Regions from separate parts of the Homo sapiens genome. Here region 2 is linked to region 1. The links are contacts of gene promoters, found by promoter capture Hi-C in blood cells and fetal thymus (Javierre and others, 2016). All regions are on one chromosome and are shown on one strand. The core of a region is centred on a gene start or on the middle of the fragment in contact, and the rest is flanking DNA. Distances in the headings are between cores, read along the strand shown. Region 1 holds the start of SNRPB (small nuclear ribonucleoprotein polypeptides B and B1). Region 2 holds the start of LINC03086 (long intergenic non-protein coding RNA 3086).

What was found. Contacts are between HindIII fragments. The CHiCAGO score rates a contact against its expected background, and 5 or more counts as called.
Region 2: a contact is called between a fragment that was not itself captured here and the fragment with the promoter of SNRPB in region 1, in 1 of 17 cell types (monocytes). The highest score is 5.2, in monocytes.

Annotation. Positions count from the first base shown.
Region 1 is chr20:2,469,270-2,475,985 of GRCh38, reverse strand. It overlaps SNRPB (small nuclear ribonucleoprotein polypeptides B and B1), which reads left to right and starts at 5,197. Exons shown (of 7, transcript NM_003091.4): 1 at 5,197-5,298. The coding sequence starts at 5,296. RefSeq lists enhancers at 5,188-5,237, 5,248-5,297, 5,458-5,577. The HindIII fragment of the contact is 1,844 bases long and covers 4,769-6,612 here.
Region 2 is chr20:2,200,274-2,207,281 of GRCh38, reverse strand. LINC03086 (long intergenic non-protein coding RNA 3086) reads right to left here and starts at 354. Exons shown (of 2, transcript NR_161305.1): 1 at 1-354. LOC105372502 (a long non-coding RNA gene) reads right to left here. Exons shown (of 3, transcript XR_937202.3): 2 at 6,538-6,787; 3 at 5,857-6,411. RefSeq lists enhancers at 1-80, 1-263. The HindIII fragment of the contact is 6,433 bases long and covers 1-4,516 here.

The DNA.
Region 1 (6,716 bases), core at 3,948-6,447:
GGACTGAACCCTAGCCTTGGGGAGGGAACCCTCCTTCCAAGTTTATCCTTGGGTAATCCCCCTCAGCTGTAGGATTTTCTTTTTGTATTTACATTTATCTTTGGAAAATAATTTTTTTGGGGGGTGGGGATCGAGTCTTGCTTTGTTGCCCAGGCTGGAGTGCAATGGCACGATCTCAGCTCACGGCAACATCCACCTCCCTGGTTCAAGCATTTCTCCCTGCCTCAGCCTCCTGAGTAGCTGGGATTATAGGCACCCGCCACCACAGCCGGCTAATTTTTGTATTTTTAGAGATGGGGTTTCACCATGTTGCCAGGCTGGCCTTGAACTCCTGACCTCAGGTGATCCGCCTGCCTCAGCCTCCCAAAGTGCTGGGATTAAAGGCATGAGCCACCATCCCTGGCAAAATAATTCTTTAATTTAAATTACTGTATGGTTTCTGTCTCCCTGTCGAACGTAGATTGATACAAGTGTGAAGGTATATGTGTGTGTTTTTAAAATGAGGGAAAAGACATGAATTTTGACTGCATATATTTGGTGAGCCCAGAGATAAGCCAAATAAATAATGCAAGTCAAAACTATTAATTATGAATACTCAGCTGGGGCTGTGACCCTGAATCTAGACACAGAAATCTAATGGTCTACATCAGAGGTTGGCAAACTACAGCCTAAATGCCAATCCTTGCTGATCACATGTTTTTGTGTGGCCTTGAGCCACACAAAATGTAAATGGTCTTTACATTTACATTTACACAAAATGTAAATGGTCTTTACATTTTAAATGGTCGCAAAGAATTTAAAGGATAATAATATTTTGTGACATCTATTTGTATCCATAAATAACATTTTATTGGAACCCAGCCACACTCATTTGCTAGGTATTGAGTATAGCTGCTTCCATGGTACATGGTAAAGTTGAGTAATTGCAACAGAGACCAAATGGCTCGATAGCCCTAAAATGCTCTCTGCCCTTAACAAAAAAAATATTGGAAACTAACCAGTCTTATACATATTTTAAAAAAGTTTGCCCGCCCCTGATCTAGACTGAAACTTGGGACCATTTTATCAAGTAAATACCAGATGAATTGCCTGTTTAATCCCCGGCTCTGAATTCATGACCTCTTTTCCCTTATTTGTAGATTGGCAAACTAATTGAGTTGCAAGGCATCTAGAATAGCCAAAACAACCTTGAAAAAGAAAAAGGAGGAGGATTCACACTTTTTCTGACTTCATATAGATCAAAGGAATAGAATTGGAAGTCCAGAAATAAAACCATGTGTCAATGGTCAAATGATTTTCCACTAGGGTGCCAAGATTATTCAGTGGGGGAAAGAAGAGTCTTTTTAACAAATGATGCTGAGCTAACTGTATATCTACTTAGAAAAGAATACAGTTTGACCCTACCTTATACCATATATAAAATATGAACTAAAAATATATCAAAAATCTAAATGTAAGAGCTAAAACTATAAAACTATTAGAAGAAAACAAAGGGGTAAATCTTCATAATCTTAGATTTGGCAGAAAAGATTTTTCTTATTGCACCAAAAACATGAGCAACAACAACAACAAAAAGATAAATTAGACTTCATCCAAATTAAAAAACTTTTGTACAGGATATTACCAAGAAAGTGAAAAGGCCAGGCATGGTGGCTCATGCCCGTAATCCCAGCAGTTTGGGAGGCTGAAGTGGGTGGATTGCTTGAATCCAGCTTGGGCAACGTGGTGAAACCCTGTCTCTACAAAAAAAAAAAAAAATAACAAAAATTAGCCACCGTGGTGGCATGCATCTGTAGTCCCAGCTACTCGGAAGGCTGAGGTGGGAGAATCGCTTGAGCATTGGAGGTCAGGCTGCAGTGAGCTGTGATCGCACCACTGCACTGCAGCCTGGGTGATGGGGTGAGACTCTGTCTCAAAAAAAAAAAAAAAAAAAAAAACTCACAGAATGGGAGAAAACCTGTATAAATCATATATCTGACAAGGAACTTGTATCTGTAATGTAGAAAGAATTCTTACAACTCAATAATAAAAGTCAAATGGTCCAATTAAAAAATGAGAAAAGGATCTGAATGGGCATTTCTCCAAGGATGATATATAAATGGCCAACAAGCACATGAAAAGATGTTCAACATCATTAGTCATGAGGGAAATGCAAATCAAAACCACGATGAAATTGATAGCACTTCACATTAAGATGGCTTGAATCAAAAAGTCAGATAATAACAAATATGGGTGAAGATGTGGAGAAATCAGAACCCTCATACGCCACTTGTGGGAATGTATCATGGTGAAGCCACTTTGGAAAACAGTCTGGCAGTTCTTCAAATGGTTAATCAGAATTATCATATGACTCAGAAATTCCACTCCTATCTGGATACCAAAGAGGAATGAAAGCATGTCCACGTGAAGACTTGTACACGATGTTTACAGCAGCATTATTTATAACAGCCAAAAGGTGGAAGCAATCCAAATGTTCGTCATTTGATGAACTGATAAAATATGGTAGTTCCCTCCTTATCTGAGGAGGTTATATTCCAAGATCACCAGTGGATTCATGGAACGGCAGATACTACCAAACCCTATATATACTATTTTCTCTTATACATACATAGCTATGATAAAGTTTAATTTATAAATTAGGTACAGTAAGAGATTAACAATACTAATAGAACAGTTATAAAAATATACTGTAATAAAAGTTATATGAATGTGGTCTCAAAATATCTTGTACTGTACTCACCTATTTTTATACTGCAGTTGATTGTGGGTAACTGAAACCACAGAAAGTGAAAGATGGATATGGGGGGACTACTGTACATCCATACAATGGAATGTTATTTGGCCATAAAAAGGAATGGAGTATTGATACGTGTCATGACATGGATGAGCCTTAAAAACATTGTGCTAAGTGAAAGAAGGTAGTCACAAAAGACCACGTATTATTATATGATTCCCTTTATATACATTTTCTAGAATGTCCTTCATAATATTCATCCTTCTGATAGACCTGAGTGTAGGTTCAGGTCTCTGCTCACATACCACTCCTCAGAGAAGTTTCCCCTGACCACCTAGCCAAAACTGTACCCTATCCCTCTCAGTTCCTCTGCCTTTATTTATTTTTTTCATATCACTCTAATGTTACATTGCATACTTATTTATTTGGTTTACTATGTCTTTCTCAGTAGGATGTAAAGCTCCGTGAGGGAAAGGACTCTATCCCAATAATGGTGCATGGCCTTAGTAGATGCTAAATAAAAATGATTTTAAATGCATGCATGAATGAAGTGTTAGGCAGCTGGGTAAGGTGGGGGCAAATGAACAGCTGAGGAGCCAGACGGACCTATATTCCCACTCTGACTCCGCCACTTTGGGCAACATAATTCATTTCTATGAGGCTTCGCCTCTTCATCTACAGGTGACAGGAAACGGGACAACAGAACACACCCTTTAGAGATGGTGTGAAGATGGCAAAGCACCAAGGTGGAAGCTCTCCTTGCTGGGTTTGAGGAACAGCAAGGAGATTAGTGTGACTGGAGAAGGATGAATGAGGGCAATGTTGACGGAGATGAATGAGGTTGGAGAGGAGCGCAGAGCTAGATTTTATTCCATGTGTGCTGGGAAGTTTTTGGTAAGTGGAGACCAGGACATGACATCATCTGATATCCCAGTACGTTTAGAAGGATCCCTCTGGCTGCCGTGAGAACAAGAAAGGAAGCAAAGAGACAAGTTACGGGCTCGTTCAATGATCCAAGACAGAGACGATGGTGGCTATGACTAGAGTGGACGCAATGGAGTGGGTGACAACAATCATATTCAAGATAATTTGAAGGTGGGGGCCACAGGATTTGCTGATGAATTTGATTATTCGATGGCAGAGAAAGAGAAGAATGAAATATGCTTCAAATTTGTCATTTTCTTTTTTTTCTTTTTTAATCCAAGAAACTTCGGGGATGGGGAACACTGGTGAAGTGGTTTTAGAAACAGTGAATAGAATCAAGAATTCAGTTTTCAACATGTTAAATTTGGTATACCTATTAGACATTCACATCACGCTGGCAGCTGGATATAAAGGGCCAAGAGTTAAATGAAGAGACCAAGGTTAGAGGAACAAACTTGAAAGCCTTGGGTGTATATGCTGTATTTAAAAGTCATAGGAAGGGCCCAGTGTGATGGTTCACGCCTGTAATTCCAGCACTTTGGGAGGCCAAAGTGGGTGGATCAGGAGTTCGAGACCAGGAGTTGAGGTCAGGAGTTCGAGACCAGCCTGGCCAACATGGCAAAACCCCGTCTCTACTAAAAATACAAAAATTAGCCGAGTGTGGTGGCACAGGCCTGTATTCCCAGCTACTCGGGAGGCTGAGGCAGGAGAATCGCTTGAACCGGGGAGGCAGAGGTTGCAGTGAGCCGAGATTGTGCCACTGCACTCCAGCCTTGGTGACAGACTGAGACTCTGTCTCAAAAGAAAAAAAAAAGTCATAGAAAAAAAATAAATGTCATACGACTGGATGCGATTATCAGCAAATATGGGTAGAGCCCTTATTTTGTGCTAAAGTGTTCTAGGCACTACAGCAATGAGTAATACACAAAGAGAAAAATTCACACCCTTATGGATCTTACATTCTAATGGGGAGGGGATAATAAAATAACTAACAAAAATATACAGCGTGTTAGATAGCAAGAGGGAAATACAGGAGAGATGAGGATGAGGTGGGTGGGAAGGTTACAGGATGGCTAGGGAAATCCTCACTGGGAAAATGTTATTTAAGCTTAAACCTTGAAAGAGGTGAGGGCAGCAGCCTTCTGGTATACCTTGGGGACTACCATTCCAGGCAGAGGCGAAAGCAAATGCAGAGGGGCTGAAAAAGGAGCACGTCCAGCCAGTGGAGGGAAAAGCAAGAATAGTGACTGTAGAGGAGAGAGCCGGGGAGGGTGATGGGAAATGAGGACCGAGAGGTTAATGGGAAAGGCGGGGTGAAGAGAAATGAGTGTGACACAGAGCAGCTCTCAGTACGGATTTAAGCTAGGAAGGTGTCCAAACAGGAACTTAAGGCTCTCCTTACGTCAAAGCCGGATGTTAACGCCCAGTCCCCAGGCCCCGCCTCTGCTCGGCAGAAGCTCCGCTCCGGGGCCGGAACTCCAGGGCTAGTGAGCTGGACCGGAAGTAGGTTTCTACCCGACCGCATTTTACGTGGTGCTGCATTTCCGGTAGCGGCGGCGGGAAATCGGCTGTGGGAGAGAGGCTAGGCCTCTGAGGAGGCGAATCCGGCGGGTATCAGAGCCATCAGAACCGCCACCATGGTAAGGAGGGCACAGGCTGGCGGCGCGGGAGCTTCCGAGTCTGTTGTGGAGTGGGAACCGCGACTGATCGGGGAGGAAGCCGTGGGTTGGAGCCACTTAGGGCGGTGAAGGCCTGGGCCGAGGCCGCTCGGTCTGGGCGGGAAAGACCAGGACCTTGGCGGTTCGGCTAGGCATGGGGTCGAGGAAAAGGTTGGAACCGGTGTCGGAGGCCGAGGTCGCTCGGCAGGGGCGAGGGTAGAACCGCGGCTCTCGACACCGCTGTAGCCATAATTCCTGGGACCCAGTAGGCACTAAGTTAACTTTTGCCGAATAAATATATGTCCCGGGCTTCGGAGCAGGCACTGGAGCCGCAGGGGGACCCGGTAAAAGGCTCAGACTTGCGGAAGTTTGTGAGTCTGAGAAAGAGTTGGCGGAAGTGGGTGGAAGGGGCTCGTGGACCACGCTAGAGTCTCGCTAGGTCTGCTGGATGGAGAGGAGGGCGGAGGAGGGTGATGGCGAATGGAGGAAGAGCTCCACTCAGTTGCTCATCACGTTTCCGTGTTTGCCTGTGCCTGACTTCTCAGGCGCTGGGGCTACTCTCTGAAATATGTTTGCTTCCTTCACAGAGGTAGCTGGGGACACATAATATAATTCAGTGTGGTCATTCGGTAAAAGTAACGGCAGCGGGGCGGGGTAAGAATGTTTTCTCAAATAGATGGTTCCTGAGCAGATTCCTAAAAGATTAGCAAGAATGTTCCCGGCGAAAATGGGGGGAATATTACAGACCCGGAGAACTGAAGGAACAAAGGCTGAAGGGTAACAAGATTTAAAAAGTTACTGGATTTTTCTGCGTTTGTTGACTGAGAAAAAGTTGCTGGAGGAGAAAGGAAGAAAGAAGGGAAGACGGGAAGAATTGGCAGGAGGCTAGTTACTAAAGGCCTTGCATGTTAATTTTACCTCAGTGGTGGTGAGGCATGTCATTGAAGGATTTAATTTAATTTATTTTTATTTTTTTGAGACGGAGTTTTGCTTTTGTTGCCCAGGCTGGAGTGCGGTGGATCGATCAGGGTTCACTGCAAACTCCACCTCCCGGGTTCAAGCGATTCTCCTGCCTCAGCCTCCCAAGTAGCTGGGATTGTAGGTACCCGCCACCACACTTGGCTAATTTTTTGTATTTTTAGTAGAGACGGGGTTTCACCATGTTGGCCAGACTGGTCTCGAACTCCTGACCTCAGTTAATCCACCCACCTTGGCCTCCCAAAGTGCTGGGATTACAGCCGTGAGCCACCACACCCTGCCCACTGAAGGATTTTAACCAGCAAAATGACATAAGCTTAGTGGTGTTTAGAAAGATTGCTCTAGCTCTGGCATGTATATTCGATGGGACTGGAAGCAGGGAAACCTGGTAGGATATTGTTTGGATAACTGGTTAGAATAGG
Region 2 (7,008 bases), core at 51-2,550, 260 kb after region 1:
CTTAGGACCTCCGACATGAAGGGAAGCGGGGGCTGGAGGACGCAGAGACTCTCCCTGGGCTGCTCGAAGGCCAAGGCTGTAACGCGGCTCCGGTCCTCGTTTTCCCGCCGTCGGTGCTGGCTGCCTGCAGTTGCCATGGTGACGCGGGCCGCGGGGCAGGGCAAGGTCCCAAGTCGCGTGCAGTTGCTCCTCGCCGTCGCCACTCTCCTGCCCCAGGCTGTGGGTAGCAGACGTCAAAAGAGATACACCAGAGCGCGACCCGGACTCAGGACCGCCCGGGTGGGGGCTGCTTCGGGCATTGGACACACTTCCCGGGCGCCTCGTGACCGCACACTCCTGGCCTCACACCTCGGGGTGGGTTTGCACGAGGGGGGGCCGAGCCCTGTCGCTGAGCGACACTGACCTTCTTAAGGCCACCTAGCTTTGGGTACAATGGATGTCTCATACTGAATTTTAATCAGCTTCTTACTGGAGGACATTAATGTTTGTTCAATCTTCGTTACTACAAAAAATACTAGAGTGGAGTGGTAATATCCTTGTATGTACGTGCACACGTGCAACTTTCTCTGTAAATTTCCAGAAGTAAAATTTCTATGTCAAAGGCCACATGCAATTTTAATTTTCATGAATATGACTAAATTGCTCTTCAAAGACACTAGCAAATTTACATCTCCACCAAAACTGGAGTCCGATAATTTTAATTAGGATTATATCAACAGCGATGAACTGTTGCAAAAGAATTTTCCAGAGCATTTTCCATTAAACCAATTCTTTGATCAGTTTTTTTTAATACAACATAGTTAAATAGTATCCATATCCATTTTTATTTTATGGAAATTGTCTTTACTGAGTGATTCTTTTACATATAAATTTCATGATAAAGATTTTACTTCTTTAAAATTTGTATGTCGAATTTTACTTTGGTTTCCATCATTGTGATATTTTGTATTTCATGCTTATTTTATTGAAAAAGAAAAAAAAAAGGGAACCCCGACATTCAGAAGCTAGCCTGGCATCACAGGTCCACCATGTTATCCTCCTATTGTACGTAGCGTCACAAAATAACAACCTCAGATATGGTTACAGAGAGCCTGATAAAGTGAGACATAGCAAATCTACTTTGAAATTTTGTCTAAGCACAGACAAAAACACAGTCACTGTGCCACTCACAAAATACCAAACACCCGTCTTGGAGAAAATGAGTGACTGCTACTTCTTTTTTTTTTCTCTCTCTTTTTTTTTTTTTTTTTTTTTGAGTCAGAGTCTCGCTCTGTCGCCCAGGCTGGAGTGCAGTGGCAGGATCTCGGCTCACTGCAAGCTCCGCCTCCCAGGTTCATGCCATTCTCCTGCCTCAGACTCCCAAGTAGCTGGGACTACAGGAGCCCGCCACCACGCCCAGCTAATTTTTTGTATTTTTAGTAGAGATGGGGTTTCACTGTGTTAGCCAGGATGGTCTCGATTTCCTGACCTCGTGATCTGCCTGCCTCAGCCTCCCAAAGTGCTGGGATTACAGGCGTGAGCCACCGTGCCCGGCCCCCTGCTAACTAATTACAGTTTTATCTTTCTTCTAGTTTGCCTTCTCTATAGATTAGATTTATTGAGATACCCAATCATGGAATTGGCTCCTGCTTCCTGACCACTTCCAATCTAGGGCGAATCCAACTTCCATAGGCCCTCCTTAAATTACCCATAAAAGCTCAAATCCAGTAATAGGTTCTTTATAACACCTCTTTTCGAAGATACCCCCCCATAGTTCTGTCATGGTATGTACTCTCCCTCAGTGCAACCCAACTTGTTCAACTATAGGTGTGTCCTGGTGGTCTTTGGCTAAAAGGCATTGACACTAGCAAGTTCTATTTTCTTTTCTTTCTGAGACACGGTCTCACCCTCTTGCCCAAGCTGGAGTGCAGTGGCGCCATCAGGGCTCACTGCAGCGTCAACCTTCAGGCTCAAGCAATCTTCCCACCTCAGCCTCCCAACTAGCTGGGACTACTGGCATGCACCACCACGCCTGGTTGATTTTCATTTTTGGAGACAGGCTTTCACTATGTTGCCCAGGCTGGTCTCGAACTCCTGGGCTCAAGGGATCTGCCTGCCTTGGCCTCCCAAAGTGCTGGGATTACAGGCATGAGCCACCATGCCCAGCCGCCATAGTTCCATTTCCTTTGGCAAAATTTTGTGGGTCCAAAAATCTGTCAATGGCAGTCCTCTACAAATGTTTAGTAAGGAGCAAATTTTACGTGGGCAGTCTGTTTTAGTTTGCATTGATTATTTCAACCAGATCTGATTTCCTTTGCTTCTTGTAATTTCCAGTGTTACCTTTAAGATGTGAGTCTTCTGAGTTCATAACAAATTTCACAGGTGCCATCTTAACCATTGTCAGTTTTATTTTGTATGATTTATAGACAAATCATACAAAATAAATGACTACCGGTGATAGTCATTATGAATCAGACAGAAGGTTGATAATTTTTTCATCTGCTTCTTGACTCAAGAACCTTCAGTAGGGCAGTGATGTAGGACCTGGATACGCAGCAAAGTAAAAATGATCTGCTTCAACCGGCAGGCTTGCTGTGTGCGCCATGCCCTTTACCAGGCACTGGGAACACAGGTCCTGCCATGAAAGTAATTCACAGTCTAATCAGAGCGATATAGGAGCTGGCTGGCCTCAACGTGCCAGATGGATGAGAATGAAAAGGGCCTTCCAAATGGAGGAAACAGCCAAATGCAACGAGTTTATTTATTCATTAAATATTTATCGAGTACTTACTTTGTGCCAGGAATTGGGCTGAGCATTGGGGATGCAGGAATGAGCATCTTCCATGTGGCCCCTGCTCTCCAGAAGCTCTTGGTCTGGTGGGGGAGATGCATATGAAACAATCGCTCCAGTGACTGCAATGTGTAATAACCACTGCAGAGAAAATCCAGAATTCTGTGGGAGCCTGGGACAATGGTAACCTGACAAGTGGGGGTCAAGGAGAGCTTCACTGAGAAACTCACTTTTAATCTGTGTGAAGGATGAGACAGACAAAGAGGAGGTTGTTCTTGGCAGAGGACACAATTCATGCCCTGAAGTGGGAAAAGACTTGACCTTTCTCATGGGATGAAAGCAAGCCAGTGTGGCTGGAATGAAGTGGGTTGGAGGAGGCTGTTGGAGTATGAATGAGGTGGACCGATATCTGATCCTGCAAGGGCTTGTCCACCATCCTAAGTTGTTTGCGTCTTAATTCAAAAGCAAGAAGTCAGGGAAGAGTATCAAGATAAGGGGTGGGGTGATTAGATTACAAATGCATTTTACTATGTCTATGGGAGAATGGATTGGGCGGCGGCAGGGGGGATGATAAACATCATGGAACCAATAAGAAGGAGAACACTGTAGTTGTTTACGGGAGCAACAATCACAATTGACCAGGTAGCACTCAGAGGAGGGAAATATCCATTGGAGCACTGAGGGTGGAAATGAGATTAGAATGGATTGAGGAGTGTGTGAGGTGAGGAATATCGGTGAAAAATATGAGAAACAACTGAGTTATGGACTGAATTGTGCACCCCAAAATTCATCTTAACTCCTAATGATTTTGAATGCCACTATATTTGGAGATAAGGTCTTTAAAGAGGTAATTAAGGTTGAATGAGGTCATATGGGTAATGACCTCATATTGACCTCATCCAATATGACTAGTATCCTTCTAAGAAGAGAGACACCCAGGGTGCACACACAGAGGAAAGACCATGTGGGGATACACTGAAAAGATTGCCATCTGCAAGCCAAGGAGAGAGGCCTCAGGAGAAACCAAGCTGCCAACACCTTGATTTTGGATTTCCAGCTTCTGAAACTGTCAGAAAATACATTTCTGTTGTTTAAGCCACTCAGTCTGTGGTATTTTGTTATGGGAGTCCTGGCAGATTAATATGAACCCAGATGTCCATATAATGAACAGTTGGGAAATAAATTATAATGCATCCATACTATGGGAAAGAGTCTTACCCTAAAATATGCCCATGCAAGTTCAAGACTTTGACTTTAAAAGGAGTTTAATTTCCATTAAATTTCTTTTCTTTGGCTTGTGAGGATTTCACTGCATTAGCAAAGACTGCTATTGAGCCTCTGGAGCAGCCTCCACATGGTCTTCTCTATGGTGACATAGTTGGTGCGGGTTGTAAGTAACAGACTCAGGCATCACTTGCATTGTTTCCTTTGTCTCTCTTATACTGCTTTTTAAAAAAATTTTTATGACTTTGAGAATCATGTGTGTATTTTGTTTCTGAAATTGTGCAGTAACTGTGTACCATCGGTTGAAATAGTAATTATCTTTTCCGTTTATGAAAATTCACCCTATGAATTTTCTTAGGAACAAACTAACCTTGTAATGAGAGGGATGACTGCGGAACTCTATGCAAATATTTAAAAGAATAAGGTAGGGAAAAATGAGGTAGAGCTAAATATAGTGACATGAAAAGATGCCCAAACCATATGGCTGAGTGAAGAAAAGAGGTGTATGTAGATTATGAAGCTTTTTTTGTTTTTTGAGTTTGTTTTTGTTTTTTTAGACAAGGTCTCATTCTGACTCCCAGGCTCGAGTGCAGTGGTGTGATCATGGCTCACTGCAGCCTCAATCACCTGGGCTCAAGCGATCCTCTTACCTCAGCCTCCCAAGTAGCTGGGACTACAGGCGCATGCTACCACGCCCAGCTAATTTATGTATTTTTTATACAGATGGGATTTTGCCATGTTGGCCAGGCTGGTCTTGAACTCCTGGCCTCAAGTGATCTGTGCACCTCGGCCTCCCAAAGTGCTGGGATTATAGGTGTGAGCCACTGTGCCCGGCTCTCTTTTTGTTTTCTAATACATATAACTATTTGTTAGTAGATGCTTAGGGGAAAAAAATCTGGAAACAGATACAGCCAATTTTTAAAGTATTGTAAAAATCATATCATTTAGGGGTCTCGGTTTTGCCAAATGAGCCCTGTTGATGAGTTGATAACCTCCTCTAGCAGGGAAACTGTAACACATGGTAATACACCGAAGGCCAAGAAGTCAGTGAAAGAGCCACGGGCTACCACTCTGACGCCCCCATGCTTACCACCCATGACACATGACCCAGTGTGGCCTTTGGGGTCAGGCCATGTAGCAAACACTAGTAAAACTTAGTATCTCTCCTAGTTTCAAATAAACATAACCATGAATATAAGTCCTAATATTTTCTCATCCCAATGGACCATCTTGAGCGAACACTGATATTTCTATAACTCTACAGATAGAGCACTCTACAAATGGATTGGAGGGTGATTCATTAGCATAGTATGTATATGCAATCAGAATACAATTTTGTGTATAAAACATCCACTGTGTATGATTCAGGGAACACAATTGTTCCGAGAAAGGAAGCACCAACACTATCAGGTATTTGTTTTCTGAGAAAGGAGGAAGATAGACTTTGATGATCTCTAGGATGACTTCCCACTGACTCTCTAAAACCCCTGGACCTCTCTAAGCCATTGAGGAAGCAGTTGAAGTGGCTGTAGTGGAATGAAGTGGTCTCTTTAAAGAAAATTGTATCCAGAGTGACTGTTAACCAGTGTGATACATGGCAGTCTTTGAAATAAATGTCTTTAAAGTCATTCAGTGTGATTCTATGTAGCTCTTCCACATTGAAGATGTTCTGTTTTATAAAAACTTAAATTTAATAAAAGAATTTAATAACTATCCCCTTATGATACATCAAATATTACTTTTCAGACTTTTAGCTACTTCTCCTGGAGGCAGAGTTTCCATAAAGAAGTCTCAGCTAAATGCTAAGCACTGTTACCAAGCAAAGAAATGAAAATTGAACATCGCCAAAGCAATTGTGTACATTTTTGGAAAATAATTTTATTTGTCAGAATGAAATTCACAGGCCTTTTAAGCAAAAAGTAGGCACATGATTAAAATGGCATTGAATTAGAAGAAAAAAGTTAATCAAGCAATCTTTATTGAAACCGTCTGTGCTAAGGTTTGTGAAGGAAGCATTGTAATCCTGGCTGACATTTATCATGACATTTATTGTATCTTGTGCCAAGCGGACCCAGATCAAAAGGTGGGTTATCTGTGCAGCTGCCCAAAGCACTAATCCATAAGCAGCACTGAAATGTCAAGGGAACAAATGGGAAATTGGTGCCAGTTACCTGAGCATTTCACAGGATTCCTTCAAAGTTGGCAAACTAAGTGGTTTCACTCCCACCAATTGTAGGCAGCAGATTCGAGTGATGTGACAGGGAGTAGGGGTGTGTTGGGGAAGGGGATGAGGTCAGAACTTTCAAGCTGGGACTACCGGAAGGTGGAGGAGGAGCGAGCGTGTGGGGACATCAGGCACAAGGACAGCGGTGCAGACAACCCCATCCCAGGTGATGAGGGGCTGGAGCACAGGGAACCTGGGAGAGAGGCGCCAGTGAGGTCGGGCGGTAGTCGGAAGCCACAGGAAATAATTTTAATATTACCTGAGCTGTGATGGGAAAACATTGACGTTTTCAACAGGGAAGTGGCATGAGCTGACTCACCTTTGAAAAGACCCATTTGGCTAACGGCTGGAGAACGGCTCCAGGAAGGCAAGAGTAGAGGCAGAGAGTGCATAATGAGAGGCCATGGAGGTGAGAAGTGATGGTGATGCACTCGGGATGATACTTCTCGTTAGAGCCAGCAGGGTTTGCTGAATACAATAGTTGCTTCCTAACTGGGCAGGGCTGGGCTGGGGCTTCCATGCTCAGTCTCCTACACAGCAGCCTCCTGGCAGCAGCCAGAGAGATTTTTCTAAAATATAAATCAGAATGTTACCTTAAAACCTTCAAGTGAAATAACCTAAATGGTTCCCAATAGGGAACTGGGTAAATAAATAACAGTACCTTATGCAATGCAATACCATGCAGTCAAGACAAACAAATGACCATGCAAACACTCTACCAATACCGCCACAAATGCTCTCCAAGACAAGAATTCAAAAAAACAGAGTGTGAATATTATGCTACCATTTG